3 separate regions of the Homo sapiens genome follow, and regions 2 and 3 are each linked to region 1. Evidence: promoter capture Hi-C in 16 types of primary human blood cells and fetal thymus (Javierre and others, 2016). All regions are on one chromosome and are shown on one strand. The core of a region is centred on a gene start or on the middle of the fragment in contact, and the rest is flanking DNA. Distances in the headings are between cores, read along the strand shown. Region 1 holds the start of HOXC8 (homeobox C8). Region 2 overlaps LOC105378250 (a long non-coding RNA gene). Region 3 has its middle 2.4 kb from the start of MIR3198-2.

The links. The method cuts DNA at HindIII sites, captures the fragments that hold promoters and counts their contacts. A CHiCAGO score of 5 or more calls a contact.
Region 2: a fragment that was not itself captured here is called in contact with the fragment with the promoter of HOXC8 in region 1 in 1 of 17 cell types (erythroblasts); the score reaches 5.2 in erythroblasts.
Region 3: a contact is called between a fragment that was not itself captured here and the fragment with the promoter of HOXC8 in region 1, in 5 of 17 cell types (naive CD8 T cells, naive CD4 T cells, total CD4 T cells and 2 more). The highest score is 9.3, in naive CD8 T cells.

What each region holds. Positions count from the first base shown.
Region 1 is chr12:54,006,958-54,010,721 of GRCh38, forward strand. It overlaps HOXC8 (homeobox C8), which reads left to right and starts at 2,028. Exons shown (of 2, transcript NM_022658.4): 1 at 2,028-2,763. The coding sequence starts at 2,328. The HindIII fragment of the contact is 5,152 bases long and covers 1,266-3,764 here.
Region 2 is chr12:53,779,392-53,783,155 of GRCh38, forward strand. The region is part of intron 1 of LOC105378250 (a long non-coding RNA gene); the gene reads left to right. Among named protein-coding and RNA genes, the nearest start is that of CISTR, 29 kb to the left of the region's middle. The HindIII fragment of the contact is 3,886 bases long and covers 43-3,764 here.
Region 3 is chr12:54,227,161-54,230,924 of GRCh38, forward strand. No RefSeq gene overlaps it. Among named protein-coding and RNA genes, the nearest start is that of MIR3198-2, 2.4 kb to the right of the region's middle. The HindIII fragment of the contact is 5,473 bases long and covers 1-3,764 here.

The DNA.
Region 1 (3,764 bases), core at 778-3,277:
GAAAAGGCAGGGCTGGAGCCAAGGCTGAAGCGAGCTGTGGTACGGGTAGAGACGCCCTGTCCTGACCCCTACTGTTCTGGACCCTAGGGAGGCCTGCAGCCCTGGCACAGCCCTCTTCTGACCCTTCCCTCGTGCTGCTCCAATGCCAGAGTTCTGGGTGTCTAAGAGTTTGGGCAGCTCCTGAGATGGGGGTGGGATTCCCCAAATGCAGGGGATCCTGGAGGGAGCTCTTGCTGCCTGCACCAGTGAATCTCCTTTGGGAATTTGACAGAGAGTGGCCATTTCCCCAGCAATTACTTAGATAATAGGGGGACTGGGTTGGGTGGGAGGAGGTGTTCATTCTCTCTAAACCATCCTGCCCTGAACCGCCATTCCTTCTTCCATCTCCAGAGCTGGGCTCCGGATGGGGAAGGAAAAGGTCTGGTTGCCTAACCACCTCCTTCCTCATCCAACCCTGAAACCCCCAGGATGTGGAAGAAAAACAGGTAGCATTTTGCTTTCATAATGCAAAGACCTAAAGATGCATCTGTGTTTGTCAGGCATGTATGCATGTGTGCCTGGGTGTGCACATGTGCGTACAGTGTCTGTGAGGTGGCAGGGATGCTTCCAGGCATGTGTGTGCTAGTTTACACTGAGCATGGACTTGATGTGTCTCAGGGTGAAAAGTAGCACGTACAGTGTGTGTGTGTCCTGAGTGTGCTCTAGGATTTCCTGGGTGTAACAGCCTCACACCCTGGTGAGGGAGAGGACTGGAAAAATAATTCTTACTCATCTTTTTCATTCATATGCACACAGCATGCATGTATTCTCACCTTCTCCCTTTTTCTCTCTGTCTGTGTTAAGCCCAAATCACTGTACACACTTATGGCCAGAGAAGGGTGCTGATGGACTAAGGTTCTTTAATCCATTAGAATTAACTTGAACGTATTCAGTCTTGGGGATGGGGGAACCCTCCAGAGAAAGTGTGGATAAATATTTAAAGAGTGTCTGTTGATAGTTCCCATCCACATCCTGGCCTGGGCAGCCTGCCTGGGGAAGAGGGAGCTGCAGTGAAGCCAGGGGCCCCACCAGGCTGAGCTGGCATTTCCTATGGCATGGGGGTATGTGGGGACAAGTAAGAGGCCTGCTCCAGTCCCCTCCAACTCAGATGCAAATAGTCTCCTAAGAAGAAATGTCCTGAATCAGCCCAGCTAGAAACCAGGGACACACAGCTGCCCTTTCCTTTTAGTCTCCATAAGCAGCTTTGCTCTCAGAGCCCCTAGCCAAGCTTGTGGCCATTGCCTGGGTTTCCTGCTCCATGCAGGGGCTCGTGTCTGAAGGGGCAGTGTGGCCCTGACTGGGTATATGGAGTTTTCCCCAGCCCCACCTCCTCTGACCCTCTCCTCTACCCATAGCAGGTAGCAAGAGAGTCTCCTGGATCTAAGGAAGAAGACAGAACAGCTTCGGACCCTGGGGAGGGGCCAGGGGATGGAGGGTCTGATGCCTGAAGTATTTGGGAGTATGGTGTGCTTGTTCCTCCTCAAAGTCTCCAGACTTAGGGACCCCCTAGGAAGCCCATCTTTTGGGTTAGGGGCCCTGCTCTGGCTTGCAGGTATTCATCCCCTTGGAGGTCTTATACCTGTTGAGGTAACCTGGGTTGACCTGCTGGCTCAGGTATCTCTCTCTCTCTGAGAAGAAGGAAAAGAGAAGCGAGGCTGGGGGCGAGAGGCACCTTCACATCTAAATTCGTACCCTGGAAAACTGGCCCCAGCCATTAGCTGGGGCTGGCTCACCACCCCCCTACACACACCACACACCCCCATCCCTCCCCCTCTCCTCCCCTCCCCTTCCTCCAGGTCCCCCCAGCCCTGTACCCCTCAACCCCCGCCATCTCTCTCTCTCTCTCTCTCTCTCTCTCTCTCTCTCTCTCTCTCTCTCTCTCTCTCTCGCCTGTCTTCATGTCGTGGATTGATGAACGCGAATCGCGTGTAAGCGCCGCCACCGCCGGGAGTCTGAGGAATTCGCCTGGGCTGTTAGAGGAAAGAGCTAAGTGAGAGAGCGCGAGCTCTACCTACCGACAGTGAGGAGCGCCGCCGCCGCCGCCGCCGCCCGCTCGCCGCCCGCCGCCGCCGCCGCCCGCGCCCCAGCCCCGGGAGCTCTGCTGATCCGGCCGAGCTCAGCACCGAGGCGCCCCCCAACCTGCCCAGCCCCCAGCCCACCAGCCCAGCCCAGTCCCGGGGAGCCAGCTGGCCTGGGGTTCGGTCCCGGGGGGAGGGGAGTTTCGGGGGTACTGGGCGGGGTACTCGTGAGCCAGAGGGGAGGGGGCCGCGGGTTTTCATGTACCCAGCATGAGCTCCTACTTCGTCAACCCCCTGTTCTCCAAATACAAAGCCGGCGAGTCCCTGGAACCGGCCTATTACGACTGCCGGTTCCCTCAGAGCGTGGGCAGGAGCCATGCGCTGGTGTACGGGCCCGGCGGCTCGGCGCCCGGCTTCCAGCACGCTTCGCACCACGTTCAAGACTTCTTCCACCACGGCACCTCCGGCATCTCCAACTCAGGCTACCAGCAGAACCCGTGCTCGCTTAGCTGCCACGGAGACGCCTCCAAATTCTATGGCTACGAGGCGCTCCCCAGACAGTCCCTTTATGGGGCTCAGCAAGAGGCGAGCGTGGTGCAATATCCCGACTGTAAATCCTCCGCCAACACTAACAGTAGCGAAGGACAAGGCCACTTAAATCAAAACTCGTCTCCCAGCCTCATGTTTCCATGGATGAGACCCCACGGTGAGAAGCCTTTTCTCTTTCCCCCTTGGTCTCCCGCGCTCCAGGGTTTCCCCCCCTCCCTCGCCTCCTTTTTGTCTGCCCTCGCTTTTTCTCCTGGCTTTGGGGTCTCTCCCGCCCCACCCCCGTGCCTGTGCCTGGGTGGTTTTCTCGAAGTTGGGAAGGCTCCGCTGGGGCGGGGCAGGGAGGGGGTGCCTAGAACATTTAGGGGATTGGGGTGAAGGTGAGAGAAAGCTGGTGTGTGGCCGCAAAGGGTTAAAAATCGTTTTCTCCATCTCTGTCTGTCTGTCTCTCTCTGACTCTCCCACTCCCCATCTCTAAAGTCAAAGTTGGGGAGGTGGCTGGGAATGGTACCCTGAGTACCCTGAGACTGTCAGCCTTTGGAACAAACCAGTTTCTCCAGAGGCAGGGAGCCTGGAGTCCAGGACACTGGCCAGGCTGTCTTGGGGCAAAGGGAGACAGACCCCTGTTGCTCTGCCCTAGCCAGAGTGTGGTGAGACTCTAAGGACAGGCTCTCTGGCTCTCTAGGGCACCCATAACCTCCTCTCAGAGAACCAGCCTGAGGGCCACTACCCCAACTTTTTTATACTTCCCCCAGTTGGGAGAAGACGGGGGAGCCTGAGAGGAGGGGGAAAAAAGAGTGCTCAAAAGGAGAGAGGCCATAGAGATTAGGGGTTCCTGAGGTCCAGAAGACCCTAGCCGCCCCCCCAATCAAGGACTTGTGGGGTCTCCCTGAGACCTGCAGAGTAGCTTAGGTCATGAGCCCCTCCAAGGGTGGCCCCTCATGGCCCAATTTCGAAGTACAGGGGGAAGCGATAAAGCGACAAGTTCCGGCGGGGATGGCCCATGATTTATTTGCTGGTCTCCAGTTAGCAATCAGGCGGAGCGGTGACACATTCCAGCAGATCAATTATTTTTCTTATTGGAAAAGCATTAGGCAGAGAGAGACAAGGAGAGGGCAGTGGGCAGAGCCCCTCTTCTTTACCCCCAGCTTTTTTTCCTTT
Region 2 (3,764 bases), core at 736-3,235, 230 kb before region 1:
AGAATAAAACAGTCTTTATTTTCTCATGAGGGCCAGCCAACAAGCTTAAGTTTCAGTGGGTGATTTTGAGGCTAGACATTTAAAAAGATGAATTCATTTTCAAAGTTGGAGGACTTTGGATCAAATTTTAATATTAAGTATTAGGTAGATTGTATTAAGTACATATTGTTTTGCTAAGTACTGAGCTAAGTACTTTTCAAGCATTACTGCATTTGATCTTCCTAACAACCCTATGAAGTTTATTTACTCCCATTTTTCAGTTGTGGAAACTAAAGCACATAGAGGGTAAATAATTTGTCCAGAGACAAAATTAGCTGGGCATGGTGGCGAGTGCCTTTAATCCTAGCTACTTGGGAGGCTGAGGCAAGAGAATCACTTGAATCCTGGAGGCTGAGGTTGCAGTGAGCTGCGATCGCGCCACTGCACTCCAGTCTGGGTGACAGAGCAAGACTCCGTCTCAAAACAAAACATAAATAAATAAATAAATAAATAAATAAATAAATAAATAAAATAAGGATAAGAATCTGTCCAAAATCATGTAGCTGTGAAATGGTTGAGCTGAGATTTGACCCCAGCAGTCTATCTACAGAGCTCTTACTCTTAACTAGTAAACTACGCTGCCTTCCTGTGAAGGAAAGTTTTAGAGTCTCGTCCCTTTTAAATCTAGGACAGGTTCTTGTCATTTGGGATGGTTTAGAGCAGTCACAAGAAGTAAGGGGCTAGTTGTAAAATAATCTCCAGAGGGTAAGGATATGAAGTTTGAAAATATTCCCCAGGTATCTTAATTATGGCCCCTCGAGTGACAACCTCTGGCTTAGGGGATGTCCTACGGAGAGCTGAGCATGATGCCTTCAGATAAGTAGGGACCTGCTAACTGAGGGTTAGAAGGTTCCCTGCAATCCAAGGCAGGCTGATATTTCTAAAACAAGCATCCACAATGGCAAACAATTCTTTATCGCCTACATGTGGCTTATACATGCCATGAATTATCTGCGGTCAAGGTTTTATCACAGTTGGTTTTCCCTTCACGCTTTTCATTTTGATTGCCTTCTACAAGGAATGTAATACCATTTATATATTTACCTGAGTCAGATTTATAAAGGTTGCTTGGCTACAAAGTATGTATCTCAAAGTCAAGCAGATAGGAATTTTGGATTATCTGCTCTTTCAGGTTTTCTCTTCTCTGTTTGTACATTTGTTCAACAAATATTTATTAGCTCCTAACTCAGAGTCTAGTGGAGGAGACAGGCAGCTGAACTGGAATCTTGATAATTTATGCCAAGTGGGGCAAGCACAGATGCTATGAGAGGATATAGGAAGGGCACCTAATCCAGAGAAAAAGCCAGGGGAGGCTTCCCAGGGAAGCAATTTCTAAACTGGGAATTGAAAAATAAGTAGGAATCCGCTGAGTGAAAGGGCCGAGCGGGGATTAGAGGCAGGGGAGCAGGGTGAGTGGAACTGCATGGCAGGAGCACGACCTGGGAAGATGATGGTACTAGAGGAATAAGCAGAGTGAAATTATGAAGAAATTGGGAAGGGCTAGGCTAAGGACTTTAGACTTTATCCTGAGGGCAGAAGGGAACCACGGAAGGGTTTTAAGTGGGGGAACAACTCAATCAGATTTATAGTTTAGAAAGAGTCCATGAGTTAAAAATTGACTGTGTATCTACCCCACTTACTTGCAAGGAAATCATAATATTGGGACTGGTAATATTACGGCAAATAAAGGAGTCTAGATGGATTTGTAGAGAGATGATTTGATCCAATAACCCAAGAGTCCCTTTGGATAATCTGTAGAGAAGAGTTTTCAATTTTGACTTGATCTTTCTGTTTTTATAAACCTGTTAACATCTCCTGAAATTCCTGAAGTTCTCTCAAAACCAAAGCCTGAGTAGGGAGGAAAGTGTGAGCCTTGTGTCTTGGTTTTCTCTGTTCCCCACTACTCATTTCCGGGGCATTGCTGTGAATAGTTCATCCAAGCCCTGCGCCCCATGAGGAAGGGACCATTTGAATAGCAGCAGGAGAGGAGGGGAAGGAGGAACCACACGCCAGGCTCGTTCATTAAGAAAATATATTTGGCATATTCAGACAATGGTTTGAGCAAGTTAAAAATAACTCCTCGTGAAAAATTAATAGGGAGTTATAAGTGAGTGTTTTAATACAAGCTCCCAGAGCAGGGCAGATTCTCCAGGCAGCTGGCAGCTGACATCACAGATGGTGCAGGGTGTTTATAGAGCATGGTGTGGCCAGTGAGTAGAGTCATCTGCAGAAGTGAGCTCACCTTCTCTCCCAGAACCCTGGGGAGAGAGGAGACAGTAGGAATTGTTTTTAGTTATGAGTTACTGAGCCAGGTGACTTATTTCTTCTCTCCCTACCCATCACACTCTCCTAACTGTGGACATAAACATTGTAGTGAATTTTGCCTTGTTGCTTTGGGTAAGGTTTATTGAATGTCAGAATTCATAAAAGTCTTTTCTGGCCCTTCTCCTTTCTTAGTAATAGACCCTTAGTTGGCTGCAGGATCCATTTCTGCAGTGTTTCCTTACCCAAGGACCAGCTCCTCTCTCTCTCTTGCAGATAGTTATAAAGTCTCTGCCCCATTCTCCCTCTTCCTCTCTTTTCACAGTGCCCCTCTGATTCTAGGGAAGTAAAACGAAGAATTGGACTCTACATTCTTTGCCATCAGAACAGCTAAGTTGATAAAGCAGAATGAGGAGAAAGGAGGCTAGCTGCATTTTGGGGCTAAGGGTTTTAAGACTGGGGAGACCAATATTTGTATTTTAAACCCAGATGATATTTAAAAAATGGTTCTGTAATTGCAATGAGGCCCTCTAGGCCGTGAATTAATGTGTCATAACTCACGCCCAAGCACTGCGCAAACATTCTGCGTGTGAATTATTGCACAATAAATTCATGCCCTGTTGTGTCTTACAGCTTAATTAGTACATGAAGCTACATGAGTTAGACGAACCCAAATGGGATTATGTCATGTGGTGCGTAAAAAAGCAAAATGTTGGGAGGTATTTGGAGCTTTTTCTGGGGGGAAAGCAGGGTTGATTTTTCTATGATGTCCTTCAGTGTCAGTTTCTGTGATGTTTGGGCTGCAACAGGTGACATGTTCCCTGACATGTGACTTCTGAGCTTTGGTTGGCTGGTTAAATAATGGATTTAGTAAATATTTATTGTATATCATGTTCTAGGCATTATGAAACGATAGCACATGTAATGAAGTATGGCCCCTGCCCTTAAGGAGCTTATATTCTAATACAAAAAGTAAGGTATAGCCGCAATACAAAGTAGAAAGTGATAAGTGCCATAAGTAACATATGAGTAAATAAAGGGTCTTGGGAATTCAGAGTGGAGGATGATCCTTTTGGGTTGGCACAGTGGTGAGGGTTGATTGGTGAAATCAGAGACATTTTTTGGAGGAATGGCATTTGAGTTGGCTCTCTTAAAGGACAGATAGGATTTCACCACCTGGGCAGGTTTGGCGGGGGGTGCTGGTCTGGGCAGTGGATTCTAGGCAGAGGGAGTAATGCTAGGGAAAGCACAGGAAAGTGAAGCAGTGTCCTGAGCACACCGAGCGGGCTGTGTTGCTTGAGGCTTGGCTGTGTGAAGGGGCAAAATGGACAGGCGGATTGGAGCCAGAGCTTTCCTGTGCATACAAAGCACTTGGGCTTTAAGCCCACTAACCCCTGGGATTGGTTCTTCTACTGGGTGATATCTGTACTCTTGGACTTGAATTTTTCTCTACTATTGTCTTC
Region 3 (3,764 bases), core at 619-3,118, 220 kb after region 1:
GAAACCCTGTCTCTACTAAAAATACAAAAACTAGTTGGGCATAGTGGTGGGCACCTGTAATCCCAGCTACTCGGGAGGCTGAGGTAGGAAAATCACTTGAACCCAGGAGGCAGAAGGTGTAGTGAGCCGATATCGCACCATTGCACTCCAGCCTGGGCAACAAGAGCAAGACTCCATATCAAAAAAAACAAAAAATGGGAGAGGAAAATGGGAAGAACTGAGAAGACGATAAAAAGGAAAATACAGTAACTAGAAAGGACAATGAACAGTGAAAAGGTTAGGGAGAGGGAAATTAAAAGGGCAGAAAAAAACACGGAGGAAGCATCCTGTGACCTGCTCCAGAAGCAAGACATGTGGCTGCACCACACCCTTGAGCAGCAGGGAGCCCCAGCCCTGCTCTCTCCTGGGAGCATTGTGGCAGCCCCATCCTCTCTATCTCCCAGCTCCATGCGCAGACAGGACTAGAAGGGTAAGGCAGGAACTAGAGCAAGGGGGTATGTGACAGAGGACAGGCCCAGGCGTCTAGGAGCTGGGCTGTCCTGGCTCCTACCAAGAATAGCTGAAATGTACAGAAGCAGAGGATTATAGTGTGGAGTGGAGTGGGGAGAAGCAAAGGGGAAACAGGCTGCATAAGTAAGTGCTGCATGGAAACAGTCTGAAGGAATGGACTCTCCCATTCCTTCCTACACAGCAAAGGCAAGGACCCTAGTTTACCTGCCCTCCTACCTCAACCCCATCTCCACCCCCTATCCCTACCCCTACCCTTGCTGCAGATGTAGAAGCAGAATTTCTTTTTGTTCTTTTTTTTTTGAGACAGAGTTTTGCTCTTGTTGCCCAGGCTGGAGTGCAGTGGCATGATCTCGGCTCACCGCAATCTCTGCCTCCCGGGTTCAAGCAATTCTCCTGCCTCAGCCTCCCTAATAGCTAATTTTGTAAGAATTTCATAAGCTGCAGCAGCTGTGGTCAATACCTCAGCTTCCTACCAGCTTCCTTCTCCAGAAGATAGCAGCAGCAGAAAGAGGAATTAAAAGGAAAGGCTACAATAATAACCCTAAACCTTTTCATCTCAGCAGCCCCCAAATATATCAGCAAGCTCGATTCTCAGCATCTCTTCCTCCCTCCTTGGCTCATAACCAAATGATCAAACAACGCTTTGCTGAGACGAGGCATGAGGCTATTGAGCCAGCATCACCTCTCCCAGTGTGGGAGGGGGCATCACATTATACACATAAACAGAAGCACCTGTTTCCAGAAGCAGCATGGGGGAGAAAGAGCTCATAAAGAGTCCCAGATTGTTATAAGAAATAATTTGATGGGGTTAAAATTAAATGTCCAAATTGAGGTTGCTTATGGAATTTAAAGGGGATGTTGAGAACATGGGGTGGAGAGACTAGAAAAGGAAGAAAAGAAGACAAAGAGAAAAATACACACAATATAGTAGACAAAGGGGAGAAACCATAAAAAATACAGCCTCACAAATAAATGCAGAAGCTAAGAGAGAGGAGGGAGCCAGCAACTGGAAAGCAAGATGTTACAGCTGCGGAGTGGGAGGGGAAAGCAGGAGAGCAACAGGGAAGAGGAAAAAAGGCCAAGTAGCCAAAGAGCTGAGAATCAGACCCTTCCCTTCATCTGTCTTCATCTTCTCTGTGACTTTAAGCAGGTGAATTCTTGGGGTATTCTCACAGTGGCTGCTGCCTCATCTTGGCCTGAACAACAGAATCCCCGCAATGCCTGTGTGGCATGCCCACACACACCAGTTGGCCCCCAGCTTTCACCTTGTCTTCCTGTTCCCCAACACAGATGCACAAGTCACTCTCAAGGCTTGGGGAGCACTTTGGTGTGTCCACAGGATATAATGGGCTCTCCTCTGCACACACTCACATTCAGCAGCCCTCAGTACTGGGGCTTTCACCCCCAGCTCACACTTACTTCCAAAGAGCAGAGGCTGAGGGCTGCTGACTCTTAACAGAGCGATTTAGAACTGTGTGCTCAGGCCAGGCGCTGTGGCTCACACCTGTAATCTCAACACTTTGGGAGGCCGAGGCGGGCAGATCACTTGAGGTCAGGAGTTCGAGACCAGCCTTGTCAACATGGGGAAACCCTGTCTCTACTAAAAAAAAAAAAAAAAAAAAAAAAAAATTAGGCTGGGCACAGTGGCTCACGCCTGTAATCCTAGCTACTCAGGAGGCTGAGAGAGGAGAATCGCTTGCACCCGGGAGGCGGAGGTTGCAGTGAGTTGAGATCATGCCATTGCACTCCAGCCTACGCAACAAGAGCAAGACTCTGTCTCAAACAAAACAAAACAAAAATTAGCCAGGTGTGGTGGTGGGCGCCTGTAGTCCCAGCTACTCGGGAGGTTGAGGCAGGAGAATCGCTTGAACCTGGGAGGCAGAGGTTGCAGTAAGCCAAGATTACGCCACTGCACTCCAGCCTTGGCAAAAGAGCGAGACTCCATTTCAAAAAAAAAAAAAAAGAAAAACATAGAACTGTGTGCTCAGTGATCCAATGAAGGGGATTCCCACACAGTGATCCTCCATTTTCCCCAGGCTGCCAGTGCTGCACTGATTTCACAAGCTCTGAAGCTCTTTAATGAAGACAAAAGGAGAGGCAAAATTGCCCAGTTCCTGACTTCTCCAGCACACTGAGGCAAGATTCCTGGGAGGAGAGCTATGAGCAATGATGAGGTCATCTGAATGAACGCCATGCAGGCACAGCCCCTCACTGAGGGAAACAAAAACCAAGACATAGTTTAGGAATACAAGCGTGGGTGTCAAAACCCTGGAGTTGTGCTTTCCAGTGGGCCTGAGACAGAGACAAAGTGACATGATGTTTAGAGAGCAAGAAAGAGATCGAAAGGGAAGAGGGCAAGCAGTCTCAGGCTTCCATGGTAGGAAATAAATAATGTCCAGAAGGGTCTGGCTCTGAAGTGGACCAAATGGCTCTCCTGTCCCATGTTTATGAGGTCATGGACCATTAAGCCAGCCAACCTACAGATGTCTTCATAAGACTTTACGAGATTAGACTGGGGAGACCCTATAACTCAGCAAGAAAGGAAAACAAGAGGGGAGAATTGCAGGTAAGAGATGGTAGAAACAAGTGCTCCGCTCCAGAGGCCTCACATATCAGTGGGAGGATATCTGGGTTTGGTGACCCCTTCATCTTCCTCACTTCTCTCTTCTGTGAGTTTCTGCCTATCTCCATTAGATTCAGGGCTACATCAGGCTTATATTATTCGATAATTTCTTGATTATCCACATACTTTCCTCCTCCTAACTTCCAACTGACCTCACACCATGTTCCTGACCTGCAAGCCTTCCATCCTCAGAGAAGTTTCTTTGGTATTTGTGAAGCAAATCAGAAAGATAAAATACAAAGTTTACAAATTCACATATTTTCAAACCTGATTTAGACTGCATTTGCTTGATGTGGTATTCCATAAGTTCTAATAGCCATGAGATGACTCTTCCAGGGATCCCTAGGTTGCTGAAGCCTAATATTTATTCTCTGAACCATTAGGAGCAGAGAAGAGCATGGAAACCAGGAAAGGTACACACTGAACCAGTTAAGGAAATAAGAGTAGGAAACAGGATACGCATTATCTTATTTCCTCAGGCTTGCGCCAACCTGTGGTTATTTGCAGAAAGTCAGAGACCAATAATCCTTAGAAAAGAAGCCCATGTTCTCCAAGTCTTGTTGCTCTTTCAGAAATTGAGCTGACACTCCAGGGCCCAAATTAAAGAAGGGGCATAAGACCCAGATCTTTA